2 separate regions of the Homo sapiens genome follow, and region 2 is linked to region 1. Evidence: promoter capture Hi-C in 16 types of primary human blood cells and fetal thymus (Javierre and others, 2016). All regions are on one chromosome and are shown on one strand. The core of a region is centred on a gene start or on the middle of the fragment in contact, and the rest is flanking DNA. Distances in the headings are between cores, read along the strand shown. Region 1 holds the start of ATOX1-AS1 (ATOX1 antisense RNA 1). Region 2 overlaps SPARC (secreted protein acidic and cysteine rich).

Region 1 (7,570 bases), core at 2,602-5,101:
ATAGGGACAAAAACTTTGACCTCACAGGACTGTTGTTAGTATTAACTGGAAAAATGCCAGTAAAATATGTCACACAGCCACTGATATATCTAGTCCCCAAGAAATGGTAGCTCCTGTGTAGACGTAGGACAGGTGGGCTAGAGCTATAGGCAGGTGAGGCCGGGCATGGTGGCTCACGCCTGTAATCCCAGCACTTTGGGAGGCCCAGGCGGGCAGATCACTTTAATGCAGGAGCTTGAGACCAACTTTGGCAACATGATGAAACCCTGGCTCTACAAAAAATACAAAAAATTAGCCAGACGTGGTGGCCCGTGCCTATAGTCCCAGCTACTTGGGAGGCTGAAGTGGGAGGATTGCTGGAGCCTGGGAGGTTGAGGCTGCAGTGAGCCGTGATCGTGCCACTGCATTCCAGCTTGGGTGACAGAGTGAAAGTGAAACCCTGTCTCAAAAGAAAAAAAAAAAAGGAAGGAAGGAGAGAGAAAGAAAAGAAAGAAAGAAAGAAGAGAAGAGAAGAGAAAACTATAGGCAGGCAGCTTTCAATCCCATTTTAACAAGATCTCAGTGGTTAAGCATTGAGGTTTTAGAGGCTGACTATGTTCAATTCAGGCCCTACTCAGCCGAATCACCGTGAGTGTGTGAACTAACCCCTAAATCTCAGTTTCCTCATCTGTCAAGAAGGGATAATAATAGGCCAGGTGCGGCGGGTAATGCCTGTAATCCCAGCACTTTGGGAGGCTAAGGCAGGCAGATCACAAAGTCAGGACTTTGAGACCAGCCTGGCCAACATGGTGAAACCCCGTCTCTACTAAATATACAAAAAAATTAGCCGGGCATGGTGGCGGACGCCTGTAGTCCCAGCTACTCGGGAGTCTGAGGCAGGAGAATCGCTTGAACCCAGGAGGCGGAGGTTGCAGTGAGCTGAGATCGTGCCACTGCACTGCAGCCTGGGTGACACTGTGAGACTCAGTCTCAAAAAAAAAAAAAAAAAAAAAGAATCATCCCACTTACTGACTTTAAAAACCTACTTTAAACCTACTGGCTTTTAAAATCTACCCATTTTATAAGTCTTTATAAAAGACCCCAGAGGCCATGAGGAACCAGAACTACCCAGTTATGCATCTGGTGGTAGAGCCAATCTTGAGATTCTCCTATAAAGAAGTGATTACTCTGTCCATGAAATAGATTTTCCATCACCCTCAAATTTATTTTTGCCCCTCAGAGGTGGAGGAGGAGAGCACTGAACTGTAATGTTTATACCCAGAAGCTGGTTTCTGGCTTCTGACCTTTATACTGTGGGGGATGGGACCTACTCCCTGTAGTCAGCGACAGAAAGTTTCAGGTATCTGTTGACTTTAGGTCCTTGGGCAGCAAAAAACTGTGCTCCCTAAAAATGTGTTTCTAGTTTCAGAGCTTCTGCTGAGAGTCAGGGTTATGAGGGCTGGCGGTGTACTTTGCTTTTCCAGAACCAGCAAGATTTCCCTGGAGCGAAGAAAGCCTAGGTTCATATTCCATACTCAGTAGTTATTTGCCACATGACTGCAAGCTACCTAGTGAACTCTTGGGAACTTCACTTTCCTCCTGAGTGAAATAAGATAAATAGCTCTCTTTCCAGGCTCAGTGAGGACTAACTTAGATACTGTACAAAGATAATTTGACATGTAATAGACAATCAGTAGATTTAGCTCTTATGTTGATCTTGCAAACCCTTCAAAGCTTTGGCTCAGTATATAAGTACAAACCATAGATGAATTGATTTTCTGCTGGTTATCCTAGAGCAAGACTCAGCAAACTTTTTTTTTTACACGGCACCGATAGTAAACATTTTAGTCTTCACAAACCATAGGGTCTCTGGTACAACTACTCAACTCTGCCATTCTAGTGCAAAAGTAAACAAATGAGTTTGGCTGTAGTTTTTTGTTTTTGTGTTTCTTTTTTTTTTTTTTTTTTTTTGGACGGTGTCTCGCTCTCTTGCCAGGCTGGAGTGCAATGGCATGGTCTTGGCTCACTGCAACCTCCGCCTCCTGGGTCAAGCGATTCTCCTGCCTCAGCCTCTTGAGTAGCTGGGACTACAGGCGCATGCCACCACTACCAGCTAATTTTTGTATTTTTAGTAGAGATGGGGTTTCACCATGTTGGCCAGAATGGTCTCGATCTCTTGACCTCGTGATCCTCCCGCCTCAGCCTCCCAAAAATGCTGGGATTACAGGCATGAGCCACCACACCTGGCCCGATTTGGGCTATGTTTTAACAAAACTCTTTGTAAAACAGGTAGTTTGTAGTGTGCCAATCCATGTTCCAGAGCATCATCATTTTTTTTTCCAAAACAATTTTTTTCTTTTAAATTAAATGGAGCCATGATCTCACTGTATTGCCCAGGCTAGTCTCAAACTCCTGGGTTTAAGTGATTTTCCTGCCTCAGCCTCCTAAGTAGCTGGGATTACAGGCACCTGCCACCATGCCTGGCTAATTTTTTTTCTATTTTTAGTAGAGAAACAGGTTTTGCCATGTTGGCCAGACTGGTCTCAAACTTGTGACCTCAGGTGATCTACCTGCCTCAGCCTCCCAAAGTGTTGAGATTATAGGCATGAGCCACATTGCCCAGCCTAAAAAAACTTTTTAATAGAGGAGAGCATCATCTCAGACTGTAATGTGGGGAGGAATGACTTGGGTGTCTTGTTAAAATGAGGATTCTGATTCCGGACTTCTGGGAAGGGACCTGAGATTCTGCATTTCTGACAGGCTCTCAGGTGATGCTCATATTGTTGGGCTGAGGACCACATTTTAAAGACAAGATTTTGTAATACTTACTACAAATCCTTCTTTCCAGAATCTGTTATTGTTGCTGTCTGTGAATAGTCAGGAAACAAGATGAAAAAATCAGAGATGTTTAGAAGAAAGGAAAGACTGACCATTTTCTTTAAGACAGATTTTGCAGATTTGGCCTTAATAAAAGGAGTGGTTTACTAGTCACAAAGGTCAAACAGTCTGCACTGGAAAATCGAGCTGCTTAATTCTTGGTCTTCGTTTCCTCTGTAGAGCACAGTGACAATCCAGACTCAGCGGTGTTTAGAGACTTGGAAAGAGTTTGAGAAGCCACTTAGCCACTTTATTTTCAGGTTTGTAGTTTTGCCTCCCGTTCTCTCCCCAGTAGGTTAAAAATGGGGAGTGGCAGGGCCCGCTCCACATCCACAGAGTCAGTTGAGGCAGGTGTCTGGGAGCTGCACTTTCCACAAGGTCCCCAGATTCTTCCTATGCACACTAAAGTTGAAAAAAATTGAGTTAGCTAATACCCTTTTGGTATAGATTAGGGAACTGGAGCCCTTCTGGAGCAGAGATTTTGCCTGTGGTTTTCTAGCAAGATATATCACTACACCCAGGATTCCAACTGAGGTAATAGACTTCAAATATTTTGAAGTGCTCCATGAAAAATGTAGCCATTGATTTTTGAAGGGAAACAGGAGAGACAAATGGAAGAAATTAATAATCCAATAGCTAACCTTTTACCCAACGGAACCTAGTACTAGGCTCTAATTTCCTTAATGTGTTAGTTATCTATTGCTCCTTAGTAATTATCCCAAAACTTTGTAGTATAAAACAACAAATATATTTATAGTAACTCACACAGTTTCTGAGAGTCAGGAATTTGGGAACAGCTTGGCCTAGTGGCTCCAGCTCAGAGGCTCTCATAAAGCTGCAGTGAGATGTTGGCTGGAGCTGCATTCATCTGAAGGCTTGACTGGAGCTGGAGAATCCACTTCCAACATGTCTCACTCACATGCTTGTTAGCTCGAGGGTTCAATCTCTCACTTTGTGGACCTCTCCTTGTGGTTGCTGGAATTTCTTTGTAATTTAGTAGCTGACTTCCTCTAGTGCAAGTGACCCCAGAAATGGAGCAAGACAGAAGTCACAGTGTCCTTTATGACATTGTGATAGCTTCAGAAGCCACATAACCTCACTTCAAGCCATATTCTATAAGACACACAGACCAACCCGAGACATGTGGAATGGGATTACTCAAGGGCATAAATACCAGAGGCAGAGATCATTGAGGCCATCTTGGATGCTGGCTAACCGTACTTAAAATCCTGTGTTCATCCCATTCACAAATCTAGAGAGGGACTCTTACCCTCAATTTTCAGATGTGGAAACTAAGGCACAGAGAAGTAACATATTGATGATCATGCAACTAGTAGTGCCAGAGCTGGTATCTGAAGCCATATTTATCTGATTTCAGATGGTCTCATTTCCAGAGATTTTAAAATAAAGTATTGGTATAAGTAATCCTTGTGTGAAAGCAAAGCAAAAGATCCAGAAGTTCAAACCAGCCATGTCAATTATCCATTGACTCAAAAATAAGTTTTAAGCACCTACTCTGTCCAGGCACTGTTCCAAGTATTAGGAATCCAGTAGTGAACTGAACAAAACCTCTGTCTTCTGGGAGCTTACCTTCAGACCCTTGATCTGTTAGATATCCTAGAGACTGTAGAATGTAGAGCTTACATGAAGACTAGGAGCCGGGGATCCCTTCCTGCCTGGCCTCCAACCCACTGGGGAACCCAGGCAATCCTTTCTTTCCCTGGACCCAGATGCTGCCTCTGAGAATGCGGCCCTTGGATGAAAGCAGAATCACCTGGGGTAATGAGTAGACATAACAGATTCCCCAGCCCAGACCTGCTGACCAGAACCTGTAGTTTTTGCAAGCTGTAGGTGACTCTAGTGCAGAAAATAATTTTGTGGTTCATAAGTGGGCCCACCAGATCAGCATTGCTCAGAGTATGGGGGCCCATCCCTGTCAGAGTTACTGGTGGCCCTGAGACAAAGCTCATAGCTCAAGAATCAGTGTTTTGAAGGTAGGACTGGGAAAAAGCATTTTAAACTAGATCTCCAGGTGATTCTATTTACTATGTGCCAGACACTGCTAAAGGATTTATAGGGATGATTCCATTGAATACAACTTGTGAGGTAGAAACTCTTAGCTACTCTATAGTTGAAGAGACGGGCTCAGAAACAGGCTTCTGATGAGTCTGATGCCAACCAGGTCCTGCCCAGTCTCTCTGTCTTCTGTCTTGACCCTGAGTGGGCCTGTCTGCTGGCACTGTGTGGGGGTCACTCTACAGGGCTCGGGTCATGGTCCCCCTGTGTTTGTTTCAGAAGCACGAGTTCTCTGTGGACATGACCTGTGGAGGCTGTGCTGAAGCTGTCTCTCGGGTCCTCAATAAGCTTGGAGGTGAGTGAGTGGCCCTGAGTTGGGTGCACTTATGCCATGTTCAGATGCATGCAGATGTTGCAGGAGAGACTTAGGGTTAAGCTGATCATAACAGTAAAACTAAAATATATTGAGTACTTAGCACGTGCCAACTACTCTTGTTATTTTCTTAGTGGCTTATGTGAATCACATCATTTAATCCTCACCACGGCCATTTCAGATAGTTTTTTTTTTACTAGCTCCATGTTAAACAGGAGACAGCTGAAGTTCAGAAACATTAAATAACTTATCTGGGATCACATGGTCAGTAAATGGCAGAGCTGGGATTTAGCCAAATTAACTAGTACTGCCAGGAGTAGCTCTGGAGCCATGGCAGTACTAGTTCATATGTTGGTCATCTCCAGTGTGTACTGCATGACACATCTGAGTGTCATTTTCTATTGAATTTTTTTTTTTTTTTTTTTTTTTGAGACAGAGTTTCGCTCTTCTTGCTCAGCCTGGAGTGCAATGGTGCAATCTCGGCTTGTTGCAACCTCCGCCTCCCAGGTTCAAGCAATTCTCTTGCCTCAGCCTTCCAAGTAGCTGGGATTACAGGCATGCACCACCACGCCTGGCTCATTTTGTATTTTCAGTACAGACGGGGTTTCTCCATGTTGGTCAGGCTGGTCTCGAACCCCTGACCTCAGGTGATCTGCCCGCCTCGGCCTCCCAAAGTGCTGGGATTACAGGCGCGAGCCACCCTACGCAGCCTCTATTAAGGTTTTTTAAATGGGGCTGGGCACGGTGGCTCACACCTGTGATCCCAGCATTTCGGAAGGCTGAGGCGGGCAGATTGCCTGAGCTCAGGAGTTCCCGAGACCAGCCTGGGCAACATGGTAAAATGCCATCTCTACAAAAAATACCAAAAAAATTAGCCAGGCATGGTGTTACATGCCTGTACTCACAGCTAATTTAGGGGGCTGAGGTGGGAAGATCGCTTGAGCCTGGGAGGTTAAGGCCACAGTGAGCCTAGATCGTGCCACTGCACTGCAGTGGGGGCAACAGAGCAAGACCCTGTCTCCAAAAAAAAAAAAAAAAAAAGAAAGAAAAAAAGGAAAGATTTAAAAAAAGGTAAAAATTTTTAAAATTTTGTCTTTTTCTGTTTCTTTACTTCAAAAAAAAAAATTTAAATTAATTTTGAATCACTCACATGCAGATTTTTTTTTTTTTTTTTTTGAGATGAAGTCTCACTCTGTTTGTTGCCCAGGCTGGAGTGCAGTGGCATGATCTCAGCTCATTGCAGCCTCTGCCTCCTGGGTTCAGGCGATTTCCGGTGAATTTTTGTACTTTTCATAGATATGGATTTCACCATGTTGGCCAGGCTGGTCTTGAACTCTTGACCTCAAGTAATCCGCCTGCTTTGGTCTCCCAAAGTGCTAGGGTTACAGGCATGAGCCACCGCACCTGGCCACATGCAGATATTCTTAAAGCACCTCTTTTGAACAATCAGTCTCATCCAGCCTTGTCATTTTACAGCTGGGGAAACTGAGGCCCAGAGAGGACTGGGATCTGGTCCTGGGACTCAGTGAGGTAATAACTGAGTTGTGATCAGAGTTTTGGCAATGCCAGTGCTCAGTCAGCCTTCTAAGATTTTTTCTTTTCTTTTTCTTCCACATGAACTATCACACAATCTTCTAAAATTTTCTTTTTTAAAACCCTAAATAATAATGACATTAAGTTTTCAAATGGCTTCCACATGGACGTGATCTCATTAGCAGTCCTCTGAGCTGTACTTTCCATCTTTGGAATGGGGATGTCGATGCCAGTGTCCAGGAGGTTAAGTGACTTGCCCGTAGTCCCGCAGCAAGTCAGTGGCTGGCCTCTAGCCCTGTAAACTGGGATCTTAATCTGAAAGAAACTGAAACAGTGGAAAGAACCTAGCTGCTGACTTGTCATGTGACTGTGGGCCCTTCTTTCTCGGGCCTGGGTTTCCCCAGCTGTGGTATGGGAATGTATATCTTGTATGTCTGTATCAGCTTTTGCTGTTGATGCTTTTTTTTTTCTTTTTCTTTTTTTTTTTTTTTGGAGATGGAGTTTGCTCTTTCACCCAGGCTAGAGTGGAGTGAAGTGGCATGATCTCTGCTCACTGCAACCTGCTCCACTCTGCCCCGGGTTCAAGCGATTCTCCTGCCTCAGCCTCCCGAGTAGCTGGGATTATAGGTGCCCGCCACCACGCCTGGCTAATTTTTTTTTTTTTTCTGAGGCAGAATTTCGCTCTTGTTGCCCAGGCTAGAGTGCAATGGCGTGATCTCAGCCCACCGCAACCTCCACCTCCCAGGTTCAAGCGATTCTCCTGCCTCAGCCTCCTGAGTATCTGGGATTACA
Region 2 (7,570 bases), core at 1,127-3,626, 83 kb after region 1:
CAATCTTCAGGAAAGCCATATGGTATCTAGTGTTTCTGGGTCCCAGACTGAGCCTCCAGCCCCCCAGAAGTGCCTGACCTCTATCTCAAGCTAAACCTCTAATCCCCAGGCTGAACCAGCTGCTGCCCTAAATGTTGACTGTGAGGCTCAGTGCAAGAGCAGGCAGGACTCAGGGCTGTCCAAAGCCCAGAGTGGGGGCCACAGTCAAGGACTGTCAGCCCTGAGATCTGTCCAGGTAGGATGGGGGTGGATGTGCTAGTCCAGGTGATGCTAACTCCCTTGTCTTTCTGCCCTACAGATCCCTGCCAGAACCACCACTGCAAACACGGCAAGGTGTGCGAGCTGGATGAGAACAACACCCCCATGTGCGTGTGCCAGGACCCCACCAGCTGCCCAGCCCCCATTGGCGAGTTTGAGAAGGTGAGGGCTGAGAGACAGGGGCAGGGGGAAGGGATTGGGCACTTCGGAATACAGGATGTCTGCTCAGGAAACTGTTGGCTTGGTGGTTCTATGGGGCAGTGCCAGTCTCAGAAGTCCCCTTGCTAGACCTAGTCCCAGCAGGAAAGAGGGGATGAGTCAGAGTGCTCTGCCTGGCACTGGATCTTTTCAGCAACCAGCAAGACTTTAAACAGCACCATCAGGTTCCAAGCCCTGTGCCAGACTCTTAGAGCTAAGAGTATAACAGCATCAGCAAAGAATCAGGTCCAAAAATACGGGTTCTGGGGCCAAACTGAAGGTTGACTTCAAACCTCATCTCCATCACTTATTAGGTGTGAGATTTAAGCTAAGTTGCCGAACCTTTTCAGGTCTCAGTTTTCTCACATCCAAAGAGAGGATAAAAATAGTCCTTAACTCATAGATCTGTTGTGGAGATGTGTCAGAAATGTTTGGTACATAACAAGTATCCAATAAATGCTACTTAATTTTAAATTATCTCTCAAATATGTCCCTTCTCTCCAATAGGATCCATCCATCCGTCCAAGTAAATATTTTTTGAGTGCCTGCTCCTGCCTACCATCATGCTAGTGGCAGTCTAGCTCATGGCAGCAAATCTAGGGCCAGCACTATTCCTACAGCCTCCCATCTGGCTTCTCCATCTTCAGTTTCTCCAGAGACTACATAGCCTCTGGGCTCCACATTTTAATATCATTGTTAACATTTTCCTCCTCCTCACCCCTCCCCACTCCCAGTGCCCAGTCACCAGTGCCCATCAGTTCTCCCTCTGCAGTGACATATAAGCTATACTAAATAAGTACGGACAGGATGTTCAACACAGGCTCCCCTCCTCCTAACACAGCTACTTACGGCCACTGCATGTCCAGCCCTCAACATCTCTGCTTGGCCACCCCTATGTTCAGAGATCGACTAGGACTCCATTGGCTCAGCATACAGTTGTACTCACACCTAAGGTTTAGTACAGCGACATATTCAGGATATACAGCTGGATCGTAAGGGAAAAAGACACTAGCAGAGTCTGGAGGAATCTGGGTGGAGACTGACTGACTCCCAAGAGGGGTCATCAGAGTGCATTCTTACCCCAGCTACAAAGAGGCAGCCACATGTGAGTGATGTTTCTTTCCAGGGAAGTTCATTAGAGACTCAGCACCCAAAGTTTTAATTGGAGGCTGGTCACATAGGTACCCTTTGCCTAGCATGCACCAGAATTTCACACTTCCAGAAGGAAAGCAGATGTTCAGCATAAACCAGATTGTTTGTACAAACAGTCCAGGCATAGCGAGCCACTCTTATCAGTTAGGGAAAGATTTACAACAGTGCAGAGAACTGTTTCCCAGCTAAGTTCCCAGACACCAGCCACAGGCTGACCTTACAAGCAGGCCTTTTCTAAGGATAACAATTCCAGGCCTGCTATGTTAACTCTTCTTTGAACACTCTTGTTTCTCTCCCATTCCTGTCTTTAACTTTCTCTTCAAATATCTTCCAGGATTTTTTTCCCTATATCTCAGAACTGACTCAGTCATGCCTCTGCTCAGAGACCATCGATGGCTCTCAGCCTGGGCTGAGCATTGACCTGGGAACCCAAAAAGTGGATTTGTGGCCCAGCCCTATCACTAACTCACTATATGACCTCAGGCTAATGACATTCCTTGCTTAACCCTCAGTGTCCCCATCTCTGAAATGGACAAGGATATTGGTATCAGCGAAGGGCTTTGGGAATGAAGGAGGGGGTACTCTGTGCTTTGCCAACAGGTGTGCAGCAATGACAACAAGACCTTCGACTCTTCCTGCCACTTCTTTGCCACAAAGTGCACCCTGGAGGGCACCAAGAAGGGCCACAAGCTCCACCTGGACTACATCGGGCCTTGCAAATGTGAGTGTCCTTGGGCCCTTCCAGACTCCTGTCTTGGGGAGAGAGCTCTGAGCTGGCACTGATGCTGTCTCTGCCACCCCCATGCTGGGTGATCTTGGGCAAATCTCTCTCCCTTTCTGAGTCTCGGCATCCCCATTTATAAAATGAGGTAATTGTCTATGAGTTGGCTCCTCTCAACTCTGAGTTCAGGGCACTTTCTGGGGAAGGACTGAGCGATTATGGAAGGTCAACATCAGGGAAGATTTCTGGAGTCTCTCACTAGCATCTGAGACAACTGCATTTCATTTCTCTAATGAGGAAGAATTTCTTCTCTCAGGCTAAGTTGAATCTTTCTTGCTTCAACACTGTAAAGCAAAAATGATGTTTGACCTGGGCCTACAAAATATTTTGAAAATATCTGATTTTGAATGCTTTAAAATAAGGGCATGCCTGTCGGTTTGCTTTGGGCCCTGTTACTTGGTACTGTCATATCTTCACCCTTTTACTCCATTACATTCCTATCTGCCCTCCGAAGAGAGAGGATAAGCACCCTCTTCTGGAAACCTGGGAGTCAGTTGTCTGGGGAGGGATGCCAGGGTGTGGTCTGATCTTTGGTTAGTGACCCCAGCTGCAAACTCAGTGGGGCCAAGTGCCTTGTTCAGTATCCTCCCTATCATGGGAGACCCCCAAGACCACACCTGCTCCCCCTCCAAGGCAACATCCACACTGTGGGTCTTGTGTATTCTGGCACCCGATGGCAATGAGGAGAGCCACTCACCTACCTCAGGTGTACAGGGTGCAGAAAAGTATGTAGGGGGTGGGAAACAAAGTTCTCCTCGTGGGACCCCAGGTATGAAATTGAGAAGGTACAGAGTAGAAAAGGAGGGTTGGGGGAAGAAGCATGGGTAGGAAGTCCCTGGGCAGCAAGACTAGAGAGCCTGTCTTAAGGAGTCTTTATGAAGTGGCTTTGCTTTCCCTGAGGCATGTTGCCCACTCACTTCAACTCCTAAGGTTTTTATCACCAGATATTCTCTCCCAGACCCCAGCTGATGATGAAGGTAGCCTCACAGAGGGGACTTTCCCTGGTTCAATGATGAGGGAAGAACAGACCCCTAAGCCCCCAGGTGACCACACTGCCCTGGATGCTGGATGAGGCTCTGACATTGTGGCCTTGAGCAAGTCCCTTCTCTCCATGCTGACCTCTAATAAGTCCAGTACAAAGTGTGAACCTGGGTCAGGCGCGGTGGCTCACGCCTGTAATCCCAGCACTTTGGGAGGCCGAGTAGGGAGGATCACTTGAGCTCAGGAGTTCGAGACCAGTCTGGGCAACGTGGCAAAACCTTGTCTCTGGAAAATATACAAAAATTAGCTGGGTATGGTGGCATGTGCCTGTAGTCCCAGCTACTCAGGAGGCTGAGGAGGGAGGATTGGTTGAGTCCAGGAGGCTGAGGCTGCAGTGAGCCGTGATTGTGCCACTGCACTCCAGCCTGGGCAACAGAGTGAGACCCTGTCTAAAAAAAAAAAAAAGAAGAAAAAAAGAAAAAAGAAAAGAAAAGGAAAAGAAAAGTGTGGACTTGGATGAAATCTTCAGGTCCAACATTTGGGATTCTAAGTTCCAAAGACCAGGTTGGAATCATTTCTAAGAAGGTTCTGGTGGTTACACATTCCTGAGTCCTCTACTCCCCACTCCCTGCCAAGCTGGGCCTGTGGATAGATGTGATCCCTCAGCCTCCCAGCTTCAAACACCTGCCAGTGGTTGACGTGAACAACATGGGCTCAGTCTCAGCTAGGATCACACCCAAAGCCCAGCACCCAGTAAGGTGCAGGAGCCATCCATTTCCCTGAGCAGAGCAGATTAGGCTGAGGAAAGCAGCAGCCATGCCTTTGCACAATGCATTTCTAGGGCATTCTTCCCACACATAATCTCCTCTGCTCATTGTCCTGTGAAGAAACTGTGGCCTGGAGAGGTTGAGCCACTGTGCCAAGGCCACCAATGCAGGTGGTATGTGGGTGGGTGGGGGCCTGGGGTGGGGAGCACGGCCCAGGCAGGGTCTGTGCTGACCGCCCTTGTGTTTGGAACCTAGACATCCCCCCTTGCCTGGACTCTGAGCTGACCGAATTCCCCCTGCGCATGCGGGACTGGCTCAAGAACGTCCTGGTCACCCTGTATGAGAGGGATGAGGACAACAACCTTCTGACTGAGAAGCAGAAGCTGCGGGTAAGTGGTCTCTCTGGCCTTGCTGGCCCCGTGCTGGTGAAGATCCAGTCCCATTCCTAGAACTGGGCCCCCAGCTGCAGGGCGGCATCCTGCTCCGGAGCGTGCATTTACCCCTGAGCACCAGGACACGTACTTCTCTTCCTGCCTTTGGAGGCTGTGGTGCACATTAACATCTTAGAGGCTCTGAGAAGTCCTGCAGCAGAGACCTGCTCCCTTTGCTTAACCTAACGTTAAACAAAAGAGACACAAACAGCCCTATTCCTTTTTCCTTTGGAGTCTGTGGATCTTAAGCTTTAATGAGCATATTAACTACCCCAAGAAGCTGATAAAATGCAGATTCCTTGGCCCCATCTCAGGCCACTGAAACAGTGTCTCTAGAAAGCAAGGCCCAGGAAGCTGCATTCTAAATACTCCCCAGGTGATTTATGTTTATTTTATTTTTTTGAGGCAAAGTCTCACTCTGTTGCCAGGCTGGAGTGCAGTGGTGCGATCTCGGTTCACTGCAACCTCCACCTCCTGGGTTCAAGTGATTCCCCTGCCTCAGCCTCCTGAGTAGCTGGGACTGCAGGCATGCTACCACACCTGGCTAATTTTTGTATTTTTAGTAGAGATGGAGTTTCACTGTGTTGGCCAGGCTGGTCTCAAAACTCCTGGCCTCAGGTGATCTGCCTGCCTCAGCCTCCCAAAGCGCTGGGATTACAGGTGTGAGTGTGTGCCCGGCCTTCGCCAGGTGATTTTGATGTGGGTAGCTATATGGAGAATTCTTTGAGGTCATCCCAGGCTTCTATTTTTGTGAATGAGATGCTAGTACCCATCTATGACACCTCCCTCCCCTCGCTGTGAGCTTTGGTCTGGCTAGTCTCTGCCTGCTCTGGCCTTCTGGGAGGGGTGGGAGGGCCCGACTGGTCCAGACAATCTCCATGGACCTCTTGTCACACACAGTCTCTACTCCCTCAGGTGAAGAAGATCCATGAGAATGAGAAGCGCCTGGAGGCAGGAGACCACCCCGTGGAGCTGCTGGCCCGGGACTTCGAGAAGAACTATAACATGTACATCTTCCCTGTACACTGGCAGTTCGGCCAGCTGGACCAGCACCCCATTGACGGGTAAGACCCCAGACCCTAGAGTGAACAGAGCTCAAGGCTGGCAGGTGCACTAGCTATGGCCAGAAAGCCTCTCAGCAGCCTATACTGCTCCAAGCCCTGGCATCCACAGTTTGCCTGGGGATTGGAGCAGAAGGATGAGGCATCTGGAGAAAAGATGTGGACCTGGGACAAAGAAACCGATAAGACACTCTCATGCTGAGGTGAAAGTCAGTAGGAGCTCAAAATAGCTCCATAATCCTGCAAGTACTAGGCGTGGATATCTGGATAATGAAGGAGTGTGAATTAAGAAGGAGTACCAGGCTCCAAGGGGTGGCAGGGGACAAGGTTGGGTCAGCCACACGCCCCCTGTCCTTCAGCAGAACATCCAGGGGCAGAGCAGCCACCTGGCACTGTCTAAGCCCCCTCCTAAGGCTCAGCCCCAATAGGGCCCAACTGACCCTGGAAGTTATCCAAAAAAGCCTGTCTATTTTGCAAGCCCCCAGTTTGAGGGCTCTTGTCCCTTGTCCAAACGAGTTATGAGGCCCTGTGCAACTGCACTGCCGAACAGGCAGGCAGCTGGCCAGTTAGCAAATGCTTATGGAGTGTGCATTTTGTGCCCTGCACTATTCTAGGCAGGGGATTGAACAGCAGTCAGAGCTGGCATGGTCCTTGCCCTCATGGACTTATACTCTGTTCATAACCTGTCACTACCTTCTGAACTTCTCTTGTGGTGATGAAGTGAGAGCCCCTGCTCAGCCTCAGATGGAGCAAGCTACACCTGCACCTTCCCAGAGTGGTTTTTTCTTCGTCCTTGGGTTGTGGAAGCAGAGCATCACACAGAGGGGAAAGGAAGGGCTGCCCTACTCACATACTCAGGGAACTTCCTCTCTAGGATGTTCACCCCTCGCTCTTTGTCCAGCCTGTGTGCCTGGAGTCTGCCAACCCTGCCAGTGATCCTGAGGGCTGGGGTCTCCTGGGCTCTGGGAATCTCCCGGCCACTTCTCTCCCAGGCTTTTGCCATGGCTGGGATCCAACTGAGTCACTCATTATGGCAGGGAGGGGAAAAGTCAAAGGGGAACATCTGGAGCTCAGGCAAAGCAATTTGATCCCACTGCAACAGAGGGCCTGGAGGGAGGCTTTCAGATGGGGTGCAAGAACAGCACATCTGGGAAAGGGGTCCAGCTTGGGCAAGGGGACCCGCTTCCTCCTCCTCCCATCCCAGGGCTGTAGGTGACCTTGCCTGCATCCCTGCCCCTCCCTGGGCCTCAGTTTTCCACCAGTACAATGAAGGGGAGGAGAATGTTCCTATCAGTTCAAACATTGTGTGATTTCTTTGGTGAGCTGGGTGGGGCTGCGAGGTCTAGAGGTTAAGAAGACAACTGGAGTCACATTGTTCCCTGGAGATCCTTTGTGGATCTTTAGGGACAAGTAGTTGGGGGCTCTGGGAAACAAAGAAAAAAATTATACACATGCTCTGGAGTCTAAGGCCAGCAGGGAGAATAGGGAGGGAGGACAGTGGGAGAGACATCCAAAGGGCCTCCCTCTCAGACATTACAGGATACACAAGCAAAGCTCTATGAAGATGGTTAGAGCTCCCGTTGACCCTCACTGCCAATCCCAGTCCCTTTCCACATTCCTCCCCAGAAGGCAGCACTGTCACCAGATTGGTGTGTCATTTTTAGACCCTTTACTAGGCATTTATAGATGTATAAATGTGTGTCCATAGACAATATACAGTGCTGTGTCATGCTAGATTTTGATCTACCCATAGCAGAAGTGCTGAATTTTGATTTTAAGTTTCTGTGTCCCCAGTTCTCAGCCAATTAGGAAACAATCAAATACACCAAACAGACCTTTGTTTTTGAGACCCTGAAACCTTAGAGCTGGAAGGGCCGTTAGTAATTATGGCCATCTCCTCCTCTTTGCTGGAAGGAGAAACTGAGGTTCCGAATGGTGCAC

Evidence for each region. The method cuts DNA at HindIII sites, captures the fragments that hold promoters and counts their contacts. A CHiCAGO score of 5 or more calls a contact.
Region 2: a contact is called between a fragment that was not itself captured here and the fragment with the promoter of ATOX1-AS1 in region 1, in 4 of 17 cell types (M1 macrophages, M0 macrophages, M2 macrophages and 1 more). The highest score is 8.3, in M1 macrophages.

Annotation. Positions count from the first base shown.
Region 1 is chr5:151,749,361-151,756,930 of GRCh38, reverse strand. It overlaps ATOX1-AS1 (ATOX1 antisense RNA 1), which reads right to left and starts at 3,851. Exons shown (of 4, transcript XR_007059008.1): 1 at 3,622-3,851; 2 at 2,809-3,258. It overlaps ATOX1 (antioxidant 1 copper chaperone), which reads left to right. Exons shown (of 4, transcript NM_004045.4): 2 at 5,152-5,227. RefSeq lists an enhancer at 7,012-7,261. The HindIII fragment of the contact is 3,507 bases long and covers 1,716-5,222 here.
Region 2 is chr5:151,664,423-151,671,992 of GRCh38, reverse strand. It overlaps SPARC (secreted protein acidic and cysteine rich), which reads left to right. Exons shown (of 10, transcript NM_003118.4): 5 at 299-420; 6 at 2,209-2,329; 7 at 4,393-4,526; 8 at 5,484-5,632. Among named protein-coding and RNA genes, the nearest start is that of CLMAT3, 8.7 kb to the left of the region's middle. RefSeq lists an enhancer at 7,557-7,570. The HindIII fragment of the contact is 4,886 bases long and covers 1-4,819 here.